Regions from separate parts of the Homo sapiens genome. Here region 1 is linked to region 2. Evidence: promoter capture Hi-C in human tissues and cell types (Jung and others, 2019). All regions are on one chromosome and are shown on one strand. The core of a region is centred on a gene start or on the middle of the fragment in contact, and the rest is flanking DNA. Distances in the headings are between cores, read along the strand shown.

Region 1 (4,658 bases), core at 2,010-4,509, 220 kb after region 2:
TTGTTGCCCAGGCTGGAGTGCAATGGCATGATCTCAGCTCACTGCAACCTCTGCCTCCCAGGTTCAAGATTCTCCTGCTTCAGCCTCCCAAGTAGCTGGGATTACAGGCGCATGCCACCACGCCCGGCTAATTTTTGTATTTTTAGTAGAGACTGGGTTTCACCATGTCGTCCTGGCTGGTCTCAAACTCCTGACCTCAGGTGATCTACCCACCTCGGCATCCCAAAGTGCTGGGATTACAGGCATGAGCCACCTCGCCCGGCCACTATAAACTATTTTAAATTGAATCAGCAGTTTAAAAAATATAATCTAGGCCGGGTGCGGTGGCTCACGCCTGTAATCCTAACACGTTGGGAGGGTGAGGCAGGCGGATCATGAGGTCAGGAGATTGAGACCATCCTGGCTAACACGGTGAAAAAAAAATTAGCTGGGCATGGTGGCAGGCGCCTGTAGTCCCAGCTACTCTGGAGGCTGAGGCAGGAGAACGGCGTGAACCTGGGAGGCAGAGGTTGCAGTGAGCGGAGATCATGCCATTGCACTCCAGCCTGGGTGACAAGGTGAGACTCCGTCTCAAAAAAAAATATGTATATATAATCTATCCACCCCACAAAAAAATGCAGGCTAAGATGAGTTTACAGGCAAATCAGACATTCAAGGAACAGGTAATTTCAATTCTATACAAACATATTCAGAGTTTGGAACAGGAGGAAATGATCTACTAATAATTTTATAAGGTTGGAAACCAAAGATAGGATAAGAAAGACAAACTATAGATTAATAAGTCCCAGTAATAATACATGGAAGCATCGTAAATAAAATATTAGCAAGCCAAAGTGCATCATGGCCGGGCGCGGCGGCTCACGCCTGTAACCCCAACACTTTGGCAGGCCGAGGCAGGCGGATCACTTGAGGCCGGGAGTTCCAGACCAGCCTGGCCAACCTAGAGAAACCCCGTCTCTGGTAAAAATACAAAAAATTTGTATTTTTTTGGATTACAGGTGTGTGCTGGGCTTGGTGGCACACACCTGTAATCCCAGCTACTCAGGAGGCTGAGGCACGAGAATTGCTTGAACCCAGGAGGCAGAGATTGCAGTGAGCCGAGATTGTGCCACTGCACTCCAGCCTGGTGACAGAGCAGGACTCTATCTTAAATAAATAAATAAATAAATAAATATTTTAAAAGTACATCATGATCAAGCTGAGTTTAAATCAGAAATGCAAGATAAAGACAATGCTTTCTTAATGTAAATCACCATATAAACAGAACGGAGGGGAGACACAATCACCACAGCAGATACAGGAAAGTTATTTGATAAAAGTCAACACTTACTCCTGTTAAAACTCCTAGCAAACTAAAAAGAGACGTTAACTCTTTTAACCTGATAAACAATGTCAATTATAACCCCGTGTAAACATTATACTTAAAACAATAGAAACGTTTCTGTAAAATCAGGAATAAAAACAAGATGCCAACAATCACTGCTTCTAATCAACATTAGGTTGAAGGTTTTAGCTGGTGAAATAAGACGAGAAAATTAAACAAAAAGTATGAGAGTACAGAAATGTGATTTTGGGTATGGAAGGGATGAAACAAGCCTATGGTTATTTGCAGATAACATAATTGTTTACATAGAAACTTCCCAAACATATACATTATTAGCAAAGTTCTATATCCATAATCAAAATTTTAAAAATAATTGCATTCCAGCTGGGTGTGGTGATTCATGCCTGAATCCCAGTGCTTTGAGAGGCTGAGGCAGGAGGAACACTTGAGGCCAGGAGTTCAAGACCAGCCTGGGTAACATAGCAAGATCCTGTCTCTACAGAAATAAAAAATAAAAAAATAAAAAATTAGCTGGGCATAGTAGCACACACATATAGTTCCAGCTACTCAGAAGTTGAGGGGGGAGGATCACTTGAGCCCAAGAGTTCGAGGCTGCAGTGAGCTATGATCACCCCACTGTACTCCAGCCTGCATGACAGAGGGAGACTCTGTCTCAAAAAGAGATTTAAAAACAAAATAAAACTGCATTCCTATATATCAGTGAAAGAGAAAATATTTTTAAGACTATAGTGTTTATGATGGTGACCAAAAAAAGTACATAAAAATAAATCTAACAAAAGATGTGCTTAATCTTTATGGACAAAATTGTACAACTGCATTGAAATATGCCAAAGAAAACACACATACTGGTTACGTGCATTTGGGAACATTTATAGTTGAAAGATCAAAACCCATAATCTTGCTACCAGACAATGCTTCCTTCCAGGATGTTTTTATGCTTTAAAAAATATATAGTTTAGGCCAGGCGTGGTGGCTCACACCTGTAATCCCAGCGCTTTGTGAGGCTGAGGTGGGCGGATCATGAGGTCAGGAGATCGAGACCATCCTGGCTAACAGGGTGAACCCCCGTCTCTACTAAAAATACAAAAAAATTAGCCGGGCGTGGTGGCGGGCGCCTGTAGTCCCAGCTACTCGGGAGGCTGAGGCAGGAGAATGGCGTGAACCCGGGAGGCGGAGCTTGCAGTGAGCCGAGATTGCACCACTGCACTCCTGCCTGGGTGACAGAGTGAGACTCCGTCTCAAAAAAAAAATTAAAAATTAAAAAATATATATGTATAGTTTAACTTATTCAGTATACATAATTTTGTATCCTGCCTTTTTAGCCATACCTGATATGAGCATTTCTTCAAGATACTAGCTTCGTAAACATAGCCTGAGAAGACGCACATCTTTTATGTCTTGGATGGCAGTTCCTTGCTTCCCCCTTTTGGAGTCCTACAAGAGCTGGCTCAGGGGGACTGGGAGAGCTCAGCTCCATAGTAAAATCTAGGGTGCTGTATAAAAACTCCCCCTGCTGAGCTCTGGTGGCCTCCTTCCTAACAAAGCCACTCCCCCAACTGGAAGCGTTGTTACCCTTCCCATTTTCTGTTAAACAGGAGCAGGTCTCTCTCCTGTACCACATCCTGCTGTGTGTCCACCATACCCACCTCTCTGTGCAATGAGAGCTCGGGGGTCATGTGGACTCCACTGCTCCCTGCTCGCAATTTCTCCTTAATACATCTTACTTTATGCCCGTTCTGTGTGTTGCTAGTATGTATGTGTGACACTGTGTGTGTGTGTGTGTGTGTGTGTGTGTGTGACACTGTGTGTGTGTGTCCCTGCCCTTATGGAACATTGGACATAGCCTTTAAACATTTTTTTTTCCAGATGGAGTTTCACTCTTGTTGCCCAGGCTGGAGTGCAACGGCACGATTTCGGCCCACTGCAACCTCCACCTCCGTGATTCTCCTGCTTCAGCCTCCCAAGTAGCTGGGATTACAGGCATGTGCCACCATGCCAGGCTAATTTTTTGTATTTTTAGTGGAGACTGGGTTTCACCATGTTGGCCAGGCTGGTCTCAAACTCTTGACCTCAGGTGATCCACTCACCTCAGCCTCCCAAAGTGCTGGGATTACAGGCGTGAGCCACCGCGCCCGGCCTAAACACTAAATAATAAGCCATCATAGAGAAAGCTCATATTGTTAACTTACTGTTGGACAATTAGGATATTTCCAATGTATTGCTTATTTTAAATAAAGCCCTGATGACTATCTTCGTGTCTAATGTTTTGTTTACATTATTTCAGCTCATCTCCTTAACATAAATTTCTATCAGTGGAATTGCTGGTTTATGCCGTTATAAAATTTTTCATGTTATTAATACAGACTGCCAAATTTCTTTGCAGAAAGCTTATGCCAATTTACAGACCTGTTGGCAGTGTGCAAGAGTGTGCCTGTTTCCCCATATCCCTAGCCTGTGAACAAAGGGGCATGATCCAGGACAGGCCCCATCCCTCACCTGCTGCTCTTTGCTTCACAGCATCGACTGAAAATCGGCCAGGTGCGGTGCCTCACACCTGTAATCCCAGCACTTTGGGAGGTCGAAGCGGGTGGATCATTTGAGGTCAGGAGTTCAAGACCAGCCTGGCCAACATGATGAAACCCCATCTCTACTAAAAATACAAAAATTACCCAGGCATGGTGGCGTGCACCTGTAATCCCAGCTACTCAGGAGGCTGAGGCAGGAGAATCTCTCAAACCTGGGAGGTGGAGGTTGCAGTGAGCCGAGATCGCGCCACTGCACTCCAGCCTGGGCGACAGAGCGGGACTCCATCTCAAAAAAAAAAAAAATTCTTGCTAAACAGGGCTGTGTCCTGGTAGTCCTCCTTTTAAATCTTTATTTAGAGAACTTGCTCATCTTGAGCCAAGTTGATTAGAGTTTCCTGCTGCCGCAAATAGGAGGGCAAGTGAGTCACTGCATGTGGAGGACATAGTTTTATTGTCTAGGGGAGAAGGCGCTGTCAAAATCTCTCAATCTGTTGGGCTTGTGAGGAGGAAGAGATTAGCATTCGTTACGACAAAACTACAGTTATTGCATTTGTCTTTCACCATCATTTAAACAATACCTCTGAAGCCACTCCTGCAATAGATTGATTATTCAGCTGTTTAGGAAAACAATTTGCAGATAACTCAATCTACTAAGCTTGAGTAGGTTATTTGTAGGTAAGAAATCCTGTGTTCAAGTATGACCTATCTTTACAAAGAAGAAAAAGAAAGAAATCCTAGTGGATGGAGAGACTATGGAGAATGATTTTTGGTAAGAAAATGGTTCTCAG
Region 2 (5,101 bases), core at 1,115-3,614:
TGGAAGGGGCAGAGAGCTGGGACTCGAGCTCCATCTCCCCCTCTCCTGTCTGCAGCACCCCGAATCTGCTTCTTCTGTGCACCGCCATAGGGCCTTTCAATAACCCCCCACCTCTGTGACCTGATGAGTCTCACCACCACATGACACTGCAACAAAAGTCAGTTCTACATCTTACTCTGACAAAATGCTCTCTTGTGAGCTGAAACAGATTCTTTACCTCAGTAGGAGGATTTCAGAACAACCCCTTTGACTGACCCTCTTCCAAAGATGCCTCTTGGTTACATTAGTTTTATTCCTGTGGTTAAAACTCCTTGTGATGCCAGGTGCGGTGGCTCAAGCCTGTAATCCCATGGGAGGCCGAGGCAGGTGGAGCACCTGAGGTTGGGAGTTCAAGACCAGCCTGACCAACATGGAGAAACCCTATCTCTACTAAAAATAAAAAAATTAGCTGGGCATGGTGGTGCATGCCTGTAATCCCATGCTGCCTGTAATTACATGCATGCCTGTAATCGGGAGGCTGAGGCAGGAGAATTGCTTGAACCCGGGAGGTGGAGGTTGTGGTGAGCTGAGATTGCATCATTGCACTCCAGCCTGGGCAACAAGAGCAAAACTCCGTCTCAAAACAAGCAAACAAACAACAACAACAAAAAAACTCCTTGTGAGAGAAAGGGCGGACAGCATCCATTATAGTTTTCAATGTCCTTTCATTCTAATTTACTCATTACTTATTGAGCATGTTATTAATGTGTACTTAAGACTTTGGGTAACATATGGATTATATACGACATATATTTTTGCATCTTCTTCTGATATCAATAGGAAGATTGTTCTTATGAGGAGTTTAAATACTTTACAAAATAAGTATAATTTAAATATTATTTTTGGCCGGGCATGATGGCTAATGCCTGTAATCCCAACACTTTGGGAGGCCGAGGTGGGCAGATCACTTGAGGTTAGGAGTTTGAGACCAGCCTGGCCAACATGGCGAAACCCCGTCTCTACTAAAAATACAAAAAATTAGCCAGGTGTGGTGGCAAGTACCTGTAATCACAGCTACTCGGGAGGCTGATGCAGGATAATTGCTTGAACATGGGAGGCAGAGGTTGCAGTAAGCCAAGATCACACCATTGCACTCTAGCTTGGGCAACAGAGCAAAAACTCCATCTCAAAAAAACAAAACAAAAACAAACAAACAAAAAATACAAAAATTAGCTGGGCATGGTGGTGCAGTCCTGTAATCCCAGCTACTTGGGAGGCTGAGGCACAAGAATGGCTTGAACCTGGGAGGCGGAGGCTGTAGTGAGCCGAGATCGCGCCACTGCACTCCAGCCTGGGTGACAGAGTGAGACTCCGTCTCAAAAAAAAAAAAAAAGAAATATGATTTTTAACAGAATATGAGGTAATTAAAAAGCAATCCAACTAAGGTGACAGTGCATCCACCTTGGGCCTGGCACTAGCTGGAAATCACTGCTCCACTTGCATTAAGCTTACCCGTGGAGAAGCCCTGGTCCCAGGATTTTAAGGGTGCTATGCGCTCAGTCTCCACAGCACCTCCTCTGGAGGCGACCTCTGCTGACACTCTCTTCATACCAACGAGGTGAATTTGCCCGGGTTACTTCCTGGTAAACTACGAAGCCACAGTGTAAGCCTAGGCCTGGGGACAGGCTAGAATGTAAGCCTAGGTCTCCCACAAGCCCGCGCTCTTAGTGCCTGGGGACACAGCCCCTGACCTCAAAGATCTGCAGAACGTGAAGGACTAGATTTTGAAATTTCACCTCATAAAATAAAATAGGTTCCAATAAGTCATTAGGTCTCAAAGACTCATTTAGCCATTAAATATAACAAGACACGTATCTCCCAAACACAATATTTTATGCCATATTGTCAAATGCATTTTCTAGTCACACCATTAATTCCAGTTTCCAGATTATTTTACTGCGATGCACCGTTGGACAGCTTGCTGAGAATTCACCTAGGACGGTGTTTGTGCATGGAAACACCTCGTTGTCCAGTTTGGAGGGGTAAGCAAAAGACGCTGGGATGAGTTCACACTGGGTTTGGTTTTATCTTAGGCATGTTGCTAGTGTATCTGAACCTCAGCTTTATCACTGGAAAAATGGCTCTGATGATACCTACCTTGTACATTTGTTTGAGGAAAAATGAGAACAAGTCTAAAGCTACCGGCACAAGCTCTCAATCAGTGGTAGTTATATGTAGCTGAAATGGGGCAATGGAGAGTCTAGACTGTTTCTATTTTAGACATTATTATCATAAATGAAAAGCTTAAAACTACAGTACATACCTTTTCTTTCAAGATGAAGGCAGTTTCCAGATGCAGAATCAGCCGATTTGAGATGCCTGTCTTGGTGACTGGCCTCTCCCAAGCTATTTTATAAGCTTCTTCAGGTCTCTGATGTTTACTTTTCATGCATGCCACGCCCGCCGCCCCCATCCAGTCAGGAGGGTTGGCCTAAAAGCTTAGTCTGTATCGAAACACAAAGATGGGATGTTGTGTCCATCCTCCTCCCCCGATTTCCTTCACAGCTGCTCCCTGAAGAAGAAATGAGATATTGTTTTCGCGCGCGCGTGTGTGTGTGTGTGTGTGTGTGTGGGTATGTGTGCGAGAGAGAGAGAGAGTATGTGTGAGAGAAAGATAAAGTATATTTTCATCCAAAACATTTTTTTTTTTGCTATGTGGATTTTCTAATTTAATTTTTTTGGTCAGAATGCACTTTTAAGTTCCAGCAGGACGTGTTGCAACATGTTTTCAAACATCTGGTATTTATTTTTCATTTTTGTGTAAATGAAAAATCAACAAGCTCATTTCCTGAAGTGGAACATGGAGTTCCTGACTCCACTAATGGGAGTCAGGTAATGGCGCGAGGGTTATGAGTCAAAGCTGGCTTTCTCCAGGATCCTGGGCAGCCCCCTAACTTCTCTGAGCCACAGTCTCCTCGTTGTAAGTAGGGGCTGTCATTCTTTCTCCACCAGAGCCAGACGTGTAGGGGAGATACCAGTTCTCTAACAACTGGGGCTAAAAGTTGAGAATGCAGAAGACATCTTCTGTCGCTCTGTTCTCTGTCCCTTTTATGACCCTTGCAGCGAGAAGTTCAAGACAGTCTGTCACTGCTTGGGGGTGGGGGCCGGGGTGGTGGGGAGTGTGGACTTAAACCCAGGGGTGCTTTTGGTCCAGCCTTATCTCTCCTGGTGGAATGAACAACTTTGACTCTTGTGAGTGAGATTCTATGTCTTTGTGATAGGCAGGAGGTATGTTTAGAGACATTTAGATAAGGCAGTGCCTTCGTAGTAGACTTAGACTCCTAAATGAAATTCATTCTAAAATATGTAAGCAACAGAGATACATTTACAGCACTGAGTCTATAAACATGAAAACAACAACACAGATCCGTAACATCCCAAACGTTGTGAGCGCTTTCTTTAAGATGTTCTTTGCCTTTTCAGAAACATAAGAAATTCCTACTACCACCCAGGGCCTGCCTCTCGCTGACCTCCTGTGCTGCCCTCCCCTAAGAGCTCTGTGTAGCTCCCTTCCCCACTCCAGGTCCCTGATCAGATGACACTTTTCCCTAAAAAGCTTCCTGACCTTTCAAAAATAGCACTCTTGTCACTGTCCCTTTCCCTGCTTCATTATATCTTTACCTGAAATTCTCTCCTTTATTTATACATTATCCTGCTTAGTATGTTTTCCCCAGGAGGATAGGAGCTTGAGGCGTGCCAGGAGTTTGTCTCTTTGACTCTGTGTTGTGCCCCAGTGGCTAAGCACATACTAAGTGCTCAGTAAATACTTATAAATTAAATGGATGCTATCCAAAGAACTTAATGAGTTTCTAAGATATACAAAAGGCCCCAGAGGTAATATTCACGCGATTTTGATTTCAATTGTATTTCTGGAGAAGCACTAGCCTGTATGTTTCTGTCTTCTTCACCTGTATCACATTTGCCACCAAGAATTGCCTGTCATTGAAGAAATACACAGTTAGCCTCTTTTCAGCCTATTACAAAAAATTCTCTCTCCTCTAAGCAGTTGCACAGTTTTCCACAAAGCACTGTTGCCTAAGTTTCCAAATATGTATGTTGGAGTTGGAGATATCTATGTATTTTAGCCCTCAGCACTGAAGTCGGCAACCATGGAGCTGAAGGTCCAGGTCTAGGAGTCACAGCGGGAGAAAAGCCACACGATCTTCCTAGGTCTCAGTTCATTTTTTCTGTAAATATTGGTAAGTGATATATTCCTTAGGGAAATCCTCTCTTCACATGTTTCTGGAATGTATAGCCAGTAACAAATTCTTAAGCAGCATAAAACAAATCAGACCTATCTTCTAAGCAAGTGTTTATTTTTAAGTCCCAAAATAAATACACATTTGTTCAAAACAATTAAAATAGCACCAAAATGCAGGACTCAGGAAATGTAAGCACCTCATAATCCCACACCTCAGAGATAAGCATTATTTTGTTTGTAATTATTCCTCTAGATCTTTCTATACAGATCCCTATGTAATAATAACAATATTCAATGTTCTGAAACTTTTTTTTTTTTTTGAGACCGACCTTCACTCACTCTGTCACCCAGGCTGGAGTGCAGTGGTGCAATCTTGGTTCACTGCAACCTCAGCCTCCCTGGTTCAAGTGATTCTCCTGCCTCTGCCTCCCGAGTAGCTGGGATTACAGGCGCCCGCCACCACACCCAAGTGATTTTTGTATTTTTAGTAGAGACGGAGTTTCACCATGTTGGCCAGACTGGTCTCAAACTCCTGACCTCAGGTGATCCACCCGCCTCGGCCTCCCAAAGTGTTGGGATTACAGGCATGAGCCACCGCCACTGCGCCCAGCCAAGAAACTTGTTTTTTAATGTAACAATGTATCTATCTTTCTATATCAGTACACATAGATCTACCTCATTCTTTCACCTGCTGCAAAATCTTGCTTTTACCTGAGAGCACATTTCTTTTTTTCCTTTCTTTTTTTTTTTTTGAGACAGAATCTCGCTCTCGCCCAGGCTGGAGTGGTGCAGTGGCCGGATCTCGGCTCACTGCAAACTCTGCCTCCCAGGTTCATGCCATTCTCCTGCCTCAGCCTCCTG

Evidence for each region. The method cuts DNA at HindIII sites, captures the fragments that hold promoters and counts their contacts. A contact is called where the count stands out against the background at its distance.
Region 1: a contact is called between a fragment that was not itself captured here and the fragment with the promoter of APOD in region 2, in 3 of the 25 tissues and cell types used here (lymphoblastoid cells, mesenchymal stem cells and spleen).

The regions. Positions count from the first base shown.
Region 1 is chr3:195,796,119-195,800,776 of GRCh38, forward strand. The region is part of intron 1 of MUC4 (mucin 4, cell surface associated); the gene reads right to left. Among named protein-coding and RNA genes, the nearest start is that of MUC4, 13 kb to the right of the region's middle. The HindIII fragment of the contact is 4,037 bases long and covers 1,242-4,658 here.
Region 2 is chr3:195,581,576-195,586,676 of GRCh38, forward strand. APOD (apolipoprotein D) reads right to left here and starts at 2,365. Exons shown (of 5, transcript NM_001647.4): 1 at 2,303-2,365. RefSeq lists an enhancer at 1,816-1,985. The HindIII fragment of the contact is 4,834 bases long and covers 1,885-5,101 here.